2 separate regions of the Homo sapiens genome follow, and region 1 is linked to region 2. The links are contacts of gene promoters, found by promoter capture Hi-C in blood cells and fetal thymus (Javierre and others, 2016). All regions are on one chromosome and are shown on one strand. Each heading gives the region's core, a stretch centred on a gene start or on the middle of the fragment in contact. The rest is flanking DNA. Distances are from core to core; before and after follow the strand shown.

The links. Contacts are between HindIII fragments. The CHiCAGO score rates a contact against its expected background, and 5 or more counts as called.
Region 1: a fragment that was not itself captured here is called in contact with the fragment with the promoter of ADGRD1 in region 2 in 1 of 17 cell types (monocytes); the score reaches 5.1 in monocytes.

The regions. Positions count from the first base shown.
Region 1 is chr12:131,815,357-131,819,921 of GRCh38, forward strand. LOC105370088 (a long non-coding RNA gene) reads right to left here and starts at 4,246. Exons shown (of 3, transcript XR_007063536.1): 1 at 3,896-4,246; 2 at 3,424-3,735; 3 at 1,902-2,468. It also overlaps the pseudogene RNU6-1017P. The HindIII fragment of the contact is 1,627 bases long and covers 2,288-3,914 here.
Region 2 is chr12:130,952,426-130,957,313 of GRCh38, forward strand. ADGRD1 (adhesion G protein-coupled receptor D1) reads left to right here and starts at 1,482. Exons shown (of 25, transcript NM_198827.5): 1 at 1,482-2,106; 2 at 2,199-2,235. The coding sequence starts at 2,041. The HindIII fragment of the contact is 10,485 bases long and covers 1-4,888 here.

The sequences.
Region 1 (4,565 bases), core at 1,851-4,350, 860 kb after region 2:
CCCAGCCAGTGCTGTGTAACTATCTCTGTCTTGCTTTCAAAGTCTTTTGATTATCACTTCAGTGAAATAAACGACTGTTATTTCAGAGTGACCTATGATCACGTTTCGTTCAATTGTTTTAAACCTTTTGACATCTTTAGCAGCTTCTCCAAGAACAAAATTCTAAATTAAGTTTTTCTGACCTAGGCTTAACTTTGGAATTTTCTAGCTGGGCCCCAGGAGAACCTTAAAAACTTATCTCTCATTTTGTAGAGGCATTAAATTATTAGGCTTATTTAGTAAATTATGTGAGAGACATTATCAAATAATAAATTATATTAGGCATTCTTTCAGTTACATTTATGTTATTAATACAAATGTTTCATGGCTGGGCATGGTGGCTTACACCTGTAATTCCAGCATTTTGGGAGGCTGAAGTGGGTGGATCACCTGAGGTCAGGAGTTCAAGACCAGCCTGGCCAACATGGTGAAACCCCATCTCTACTAGAAATACAAAAATCAGCCAGGCGTGGTGGTGCACACCTGTAATCCCAGCTATTCAGGAGGCTGAGGCAGGAGAATCACTTTAACCCAGGAGGCGGAGGTTGCAGTGAGCCGAGATTGCGCCACTGCATTCCAGACTGAGCGACAGAGCGAGACTCCATCTCAAAAAAATAAATAAATAAATAATGTTTAAAAATTGTATAAAACTTAAAATCTAATATCATTAGTCATAATTTTAGCTGTTATAGTAAATCTTCTTTAAAGTTATATCTATGTAAATGTATTAATGTGAATATCCTATAGACTATGTACAGCTGATCAGTCTGATGGCCCCAGATGAACAATGAGATTCGCCATTCCACAGTCTTCATTTACAGCAGTCTGCACTGTTGAGAGGCTCCAGCCGTCACACTCACTCACAGGCAAGTCCCTTAAACCTGATTTCCTGCCAGGCGCGGTGGCCACACCTGTAATCCCAGCACTTTGGGAGGCCAAGGCAGGTGGATCACTTGAGGTCAGGAGTTTGAGACCAGCCTGACCAACATGGTGAAACCCCGTCTCTACTAAAAATACAAAAATTAGCCAGGTGTGGTGGCGGGTGCCTGTGATCCCAGCTACTTGGGAGGCTGAGGCAGGAGAATCACTCAAACCTGGGAGAGGGAGATTGCGGTGAGCCGACATCGCACCACTGGACTCCAGCCTGGGCAACAGAGCAAGACTCCATCAAAAAAAAAAAAAAAAAAAAAAAAAACCTGATTTCCTGCAACAAAAACGAAATGACTCAAGAAATTACAACTGGCAGAGAACAAAGAGGGTGGAGAAGTGGATATTTCACAGAAGTCACACAAGGCCAGGCTCACTGTAGAAACATGGAAAAATACAGTATCTGAAGCCAAACTAACCAGGAGCATGTCCTAGCAACAGCACTCACTACCTACAAAACTGTGGGCATGGCGCTTTTGTTATCATTCTGTGATAAAAACCTCAGTGAGGTCAGGCACAGTGGCTCACAACTGTAATTCCACTGCTTAGGAAGGCCCAGGTGGGAGGATGGCTCAAAGCTAAGAATTCGAGACCAGCCTGGGCCACAGAGCAAGATCCCAACTCTAAAAATCAAATTAAATTTAAAATTTAAAGAAACAAAACAAAACAAAACTTGGCCAGGCATGATGGCTCACACCAGTAATCCTAGCATTTTGTGAGGCTGAGGTAGGTGGATAGCTTGAACTCAGGAGTTTGAGACCAGCCTGGACAACATGGCAAAACTCCATCTCTATAAAATTAAAAAAAAAAAAAAAAGAGCAGGATGTGGTGGTGTGTGTCTGTAGTCCCAGCTCCTTGGGAGGCTGAGGTAGGAGGATCACCTGGGCGACAGAGCGAGACCCCACCTCAAAAAGAAAAAAAACTTAAACGAGCTGTTGGGTAAAACTTTCAGTGTAATGGAAGGAAGACACGCCAGGCCGGAAATCAGAATGCTTTCCGGGCACTCCACTCATCCTGGCGTGGGGCTCAGGCTTGGCTCTGCCGCAGTCCACACCATCTCCCCAACACAGAACTACGGCAGCCCCCGACCCGAAGCCAGCAAAGCCCCTCAACCGGAGCTCCCTTCACAGGCGCAGGTGGTGGGAGTTCACCGTCCGCTCATCATCCCAACAGTCTGAGGACGGCGCAGCAGCCTGGGCTCCCATGGGAGGTGCAGTGAGGGAAAGCACACTCGCCCAGGCTCCCCCAGTCGTGGTGACAGAAATCCAAGCATGGGGCCATTTAAAAGAGTAGTCGTGACAGCTTAGGAAGGAGCGACTGAAGCTTTCTTTGTTTTCTCTCTGGCGATATCTTTAGGGGCCTCTCCAAGTTTCTTGCTGAAGACATCCACAGGTCTTAACCAGGCTGGTCCACCGCGGTCTTGTGATTCGAGGCACAGTAAGTGGCCCCTTACTTTCCTTCTCTACTTGACTTTTCTGGATTCGAAAGAGCGTTTGTCAAACCTACAAAAAGATGACGACTGATGGTTTTTACAAGGTGTGAACCATGAAGAGTGATCCCATGCCACCCAGGATGGGGTTGAACATTGACATTGCTACAGACCTGTATTAGGTGGAAATAGCACTGAACCCCCAAAGGAATCTAACAACATGTAAGACAGGATATTTTTTGGCTGGGCGTGGTGGCTCACGCCTGTAATCCCAGCACTTTGGGAGGCCAAGGCAGGCGGATCACGTGAGGTCATAAGTTCGAAACCAGCCTGGCCAATATGGTGAAACCCTGTCTCTACTAAAAAAATACAGAAAAAAAAAATTAGCCAGGCGTGGTGCTGGGCGCCTGTAATCCAGCTACTCAGGAGGCTGAGGCAGGAGAATGGCGTGAATCCAGGAGGCGGAGGTTGCAGTGAGCCGAGATGGCGCCACTGCACTCCAGCCTGGGCGACAGAGAGAGACTCCGTCAAAAAAAAAAAAAAATTCCTGTCCTCCCCCACCCTTGTGATAATGTACTTTGTGATATTCCCCGTCCTTGTGAATGTACTTTGTAACATTCCTCCCCGCCCCTGTGACAATACACCCTCCCCACCCTTATGAATGTACTTTGTAACGTCCATCCCCTGCCCGAAAAAATTGCTGCTAACTCCACCGCCTATCCTATCCCAAACCTATAAGAACCAATGATAGGCCCACCACCCTCCTCTGACTCCTTTCTCAGACTCAGCCCCCTTGCACCCAAGTGAATAAACAGCCTTGTTGCTCACACTAAGCCTGTTTAGGTGGCCTCTTATACAGACGCGCATAACACCTACATTCTTCTGGATTCATCGAATCTAACTTTCTTCCATAGAATTACTAAAAATGGAAACTTCTCTGTTCCTGAAGTCCTATCAGCTAAAACTAGATGAATTCTCCAAAAGAAGCCTTGCGTCTGATGTGTGGGCCACACAAAAGTTCACTGTACCTCCCAATGCCATAGTCAGAGACATTCGAACTGCAAACCAGGTCGCGAATAGGACGTTTCATGCTGTAGACGGCTTTCCCTAGACGCCGGCGAACAGGACTCCTGTCATGATGACGCTCTTACCCATCTCAATGCCCACCTCTCCCACGGGGCAGGACGGTGGTGTCGCTGAACTTCCACGATCCGCGGCTTCTGCTGGAACTCCACAGAACCTGACCCAGGAGATCCCTTAGTCTCTTCTGGTTAAGTAAGGAAATGCCTGTGCTGTTGCTGCCACCACACGCTGCACCTGGAGAAACTCCTCTGGGAAAGCTGAGACCCACATGCACAAAATAAGAAAACAGGCCACAGGGTCGCAGCCGGTCTCACCCACCGTGAGGTTATCTGATTTATTCCCTTGGTTGCCTTTACGGCTGGGTTCGTGACAAAGCCACTGTGCAAACTGGGATTGCCACATTACTATTAATTTTACCTTGTATTTCCCCTTTTGAAGCTTTGCGTTTGTTCCTTGTTAAATTTTGAAGTACAACTCCTCGCAGGATCATGCTGGCCCAGCGCGTCGAGATGACAGCAAGAGACTCCAAAGCAGACAAAACTGAACTCAGTAACGGGCCCCAGGGGGCCTCAGCCCAGGCACCACACCCTCCAAACCTCCCCTATTGCTCAACTGTGGCTAAAAGGGTTTTGACATTGACTCCTAGTCACCACCCACCGTAACCCCACCCGGTGTGGGGAAAGACCAGCAACCAGGACATCCCTGGGACATCAAAACCTAAGTTCAGGGCCGGGTGCAGTGGCTCACGCCTGTAATCCCAGCACTTTGGGAGGCTGAGGCGGGCAGATCACCTGAGGTCGGGAGTTTGAGACCAGCCTGACCAACACGGTGAAACCCCATCTCTACTGAAAATACGAAACTTAGCCGGGTGTGATGGCGGGCGTCTGTAATCCCAGCTACTCAGAAGGCCGAGGCAGGAGAATCGCTTGAACCCAGGAGGCGGATCGGAGGTTGCAGTGAGCCGAGATTGTGCCACGGCACTCCAGCCTAGGTGACAGAGTGAGACTCCGTCTCAAAAAAACAACAAAAAACAAAAAAGCTAAGTACAGGAAGACTGATCAGTGATGCCTGAGAAAGATTTTTTTTT
Region 2 (4,888 bases), core at 232-2,731:
ATGACAATTTTATGATGAAAAGAAACCATGCTGGCTTTGTTCGGTCATGGAGATGGGAAAGGTCCGCATATTCAGCAATCTGTTGAATTCTTCCAGGTTAAAACTGGAGCTGAGAAAAACCTGCAGCTGCCTGTCCCTCCCTTCACCTCTTCCAGCGAGAGGCAGTGGGGGACTGGAGAGCTGATGAAATGGCAGAGATAAAGGTTGTAAATTAGTTTTCCCTGAAGCCGACCAGCCTGAGCAACAGGATAAAGGTCGTTATTACAGACAGCCCCCGGCCTTTGGAGTTCACAGTTTCTCCATTGCTAGGAGATGGAACTCTCTGGAACCCTTCTCCAGCTCCACAGAGAGGCTCAGGCTATCAGAGGATCTGAGCGGTTGTAGGCTGCAGGCACAAGTTAAAAATAATCACCTAACGTTTTGACAGCACTTTCTTTTTTTCTGTCCCACAGAGATTGGAAGTCATTTTCTTATCCTCTTTAGGAAGTATGTTGGATTCAGGATTCTTAATTCCCATTTAAAGTCAGGACAATTGAGATAACTGTATCAGCTAACATTTACTGGGTGTTATGTTATACTTGCTAATAATAATCATAGCTAACATTTACTGAGTGATAATTTTTCTTAATAGAAAATAGCAGCATTTACTGAGTGCCACATATTTTCCAAGTACTGCCTGAAGAGCCTTGGATCTGTCCTCTAATTTATTGTTACAGCCCTGAGGAGGAGGAACTATTAACCCCCATTTTGTGGATGAGGAATTCGAAAACTAAGAGAGATCAAGTAATTTGCCTAGGAGCACAGCTGGTGAATGTTGGAGAAAGTATGAAGCGGTAAATATTACTTAAATCACATAGCAAATATAGCTGTGACTGCAATTCTAGGGTGTGTGTCTCTGTGTGTCCACGTGTATTTGGAGTAGATCGGATAAACTTTGGTCTTGGGTAAACTGAGGCATGTCTGGCGAAGGGGCTGACTCTTTTCTATCCCATTGAGAACATCCTCCTGGTGCTGGGGTGGGGGTATATGTGGGATGGTGTAATTGCGCAGCGTACCTTGTAATTAATTCCGTAGCTTTCACTGACGTCCGAAAGGATTAGAGAGAAAAATGTGGTCAGCGCTTAATATGGAGGGCACAGTGGGTGTGCTGCTTTCTCTTTTCCATCCCTCTGTCAACTTCATTCTCTTTTGGGGGCAAACAAGACTCAGATCTAAACAGAGTTTATGGTTTGTTTTGCATTTTGTATTTATTAATATTTATGCCGACTTTGAAGGTGCTGACCAGAAGGCATCAGTAACACACACACGCACACGCACACACACCACACACCATGTCTGTTTGGTTTGATTCTGAGCCTGAGATCCTGGAAATATTTCAGCTGTTGTTAAGAGGCTGGAGTTAGGACCCAGGAAGGACACAGCAGTGGGGATATAAATAGAAAAGGAGAACAGAACAAAGTTTGAGGAGAGAGACTTACATCACTCACTCCCCCTCCACCCAGAGAGCAGGACGGAGGTGTGAACTTGAGCCAGACCAGAAGGAGCTCGAGAGCGGCCGCAGGACAAGCCCGAGGAGCAGGCGGGCGCTCCAGGGGAAAACCACGCACAAAACCTTCTTCAGAGAAAAGGGAAGCTCCAAACCTGACTGAGACAAACGGAGGCTCTTGAAATAAAAAGAAAATACCGCAGGACAAACAGCCTCCCGTCCCCGGGCGCAGGTCGCGGTCACAGTGGTGACCTGGGATTGCTTTCCCAGGACTGCGAGTCGGGTTTGGGTTTCTCCTCCCTGCATTCCACAGCTGCTCTGGTCATCGCAACGTGTTTATTGATCACTGAAGAATCTCAAGTTTTGAGACGAGGAAGAAACACCCATTAGGTCTCCAAGACAGCTGTGTTTCACAAACTTTAAGGAGACAGAAATTTTCTCCCCTGGAACCTGTGAAAATGTCCCTTTTCCAAGGAAGTGAAGGTTAAGAGGTCCCGTTCTCACAGACCCTCAGGAATTTCACTTGGCTCCGAGCTTTGACCTCCGAGAGAGCCATGGAAAAGCTGCTGCGGCTGTGCTGCTGGTACTCCTGGCTGCTGCTATTTTATTACAACTTTCAGGTAATGTCCCCAAGTGGCCAGGATGGCGACAGGCTTGGTTTCTCCGGAGGCTTTCCCTGAGTGTGTCTCACACTGTGGTCTTTTGTGCGCAGGTGCGTGGCGTCTACTCCAGATCGCAGGACCATCCAGGTAAGAGTGTTTCCTTCTCACTCTGAGCACCGCTCTCCCCCTGCCTAGTGCAGGTATCTCAGGAACAGCCCACTTGTTCATCTCTGAGGCATCAGCGAATGGCCCTTGTTGGGCTCCTGGTCCCCGACCTCACTGCCTCACCACACACTGTGACCCTGGGCAGCTCTGCTACCCCTCACCGGCTGAGCGGTGGATGGAGAAGTGGTTCTGGGCCCCTTGAGCTGGGTCATATGAAACATTGTGATTAAGGAAATATGATCTTCATTTGAATGCCTTCTGCCTCTTTCTTTCTCTCTTTCTCTCTTTCTTCCTTTCTTCCTTTTTTTCTTTTTGAGATGGAGTCTTGCTCTGTTGCCCAGGCTGGAGTGCAGTGGCCGCAACCTCTGCCTCCCGGGTTCAAGCAATTCTCCTGCCTCAGCCACCTGAGTAGCTGGGATCACAGGTGTGCACCACTACACCCAGCTTTTTTTTTTTTTGTATTTTTAGTAGAGACAGGGTTTCACTATGTTGGCCAGGCTGGTCTCGAACTCCTGATTTCAGGTGATCCGCCCGCCTTGGCCTCCCAGAGTGCTGGGATTACAGATGTGAGCCACCACACCCATCTCATGTCTTCAGGGCAGATTCACTGGTGGGGAGTTGGAGCTCTGGCCCATAGCAGGGTCTCGGGACCTCCAGCCTCAGAGTGCTGACCAGCTTAGCCTGGAGCAGCCGATGAGTGGGACTCGGGATAGAGGGCCACCCTTGCTCCAGCCCCAGAGCCACATTCCATTGGCCATTGTGACACCCAACCAGGAAGCATCAGGACGGGGCTTCTCTCGGGAAGACAGGGAGGCACACACCCTTCGCTGTTAAGAGTGTGGGCACACGTTCTGGTCAGCCAGGGGCAGGGATGGGAAGACGAGGCTTTCTGGGAGCAGCAGGCAGTCACTGGGCTGTTGCTCCCTGCTGGAAGTTGCAGGAGGTGGGGAGGAGACCCTGCTAGTGCCTGAACCCCTGCTGGGAAGCCTGTTGTGAGCACAGCCTCTGCCCCCGCCCCACCAGAGCTTGGCTGGGCACCCCCCCGAGCGCTATTGTATGGCCCTGCCTGTCTCTGATGGGAAATCAGCCTTTTTAAAAAAATTATTTTTGTTTTTATTTTTTGAGACAAAGTCTCACTCTGTCACCCAGGCTGGAGTTGAGTGGTGAGATCTCAGTCTCGGCTCTCTGCTACCTCTGCCTCCCGGGTTCAAGCGATTCTTGTGCCTCAGCCTTCCAAGCAGCTGGGATTACAGGCCCATGCCACCACGCCTGGCTAATTTTTGTATTTTTAGTAGACACAAGGTTTTGCCATGTTGGCCAGGCTGGTCTCGATCTCCTGACCTCGGGTGATCCAACCACCTCGGCCTCCCAAAGTGTTGGGATTACAGATGTGAGCCACTGGGCCTGGCTGGGAACCAGCCTTTAATGATCAACCACAAATGGACTCAGGCCAGCACTGTGGGCAGATCCCAGGGCGATACCCAGGCCTCCAGGGAGAGCCCCTTTCCTGGATGGAGCACCAGGAGCCTGCTGGGGTCTAGGGCCAGGGGCTGTGCCCTCAGCCTCTGTCTCCTTTCCGGCTGCCCGGCAGCCCCATGCCAGGATGTTCCAGGCATCGTCGCCTCGCCACCACCTCCATTCACCAACTCGGGGGTGGGGACGCTGCCACTTCTGTTTCGTCCACATGCATAGGGAGCTCCTTTTAAAAAGGTGTGGAAGCTGTGAGTTTCCACACATTCCCCTCTCCTCAGCCAAATCGCTGAATGAAACAAGGGCTCCTGTGGCTTGGGAACGAATAAACATGCCCAGCGCTGCGTTAAAGAGAGGACGTGTCCACCTTGGACACCTTGCTTCTCGTGAATGCAGGCCTCATGGCTTGGGCTGGGCTCCAGTAGGGGAGAGGACTGAGAGGAGGAGAGGGGTAGCCCCTCGAACTGCAGGGCGGTCAGGCAGAGCTGTGCACCCGGCTCCTGCAGCAGGCAGGTGGCCCCCGAGGCCCCAGCATGGCCCTCACTGCTGCTCAGTGTTGGAGAAAAGCTGTGCGGGTTCTCCCCGGACTTCTGCTTATGATACAGAGCCCACACGCATTCTCACACATGCACATGTGTCCACATGCCCCCCCATGCTACATGTCTACATGTGTCAACATATGCCCACATGCACCAACACAAATCACACACATCCACACATGGTGACACATATGCATACACACACACACCAGATGTCTACATGTGTCAACATATGGCCACATGTGCCAACACACATCACATGTCCACACACCACTCACATCCATACACATCAGACATGTTGACACACATGCATACACATGCAAAAGCATCCACACATATGCACACACCTGCATGCATCAACATGTGTCCACATGCATCCACACATGTGTCCACACAATTCACATGTGTAGACACACATGCACATATATACACATCCATGCACACACCCACACCCACATGTGCCAACACATGTCTACGTGCATCAACATACATGTATTTACACATGTTCACACATGTCCACACATATCCACGTGTCTACACACATGACCACACAGTCACAGACTACACACATCCACATGCATCCACACACATCCATACATTTCTACACACATGCATACACGTACACA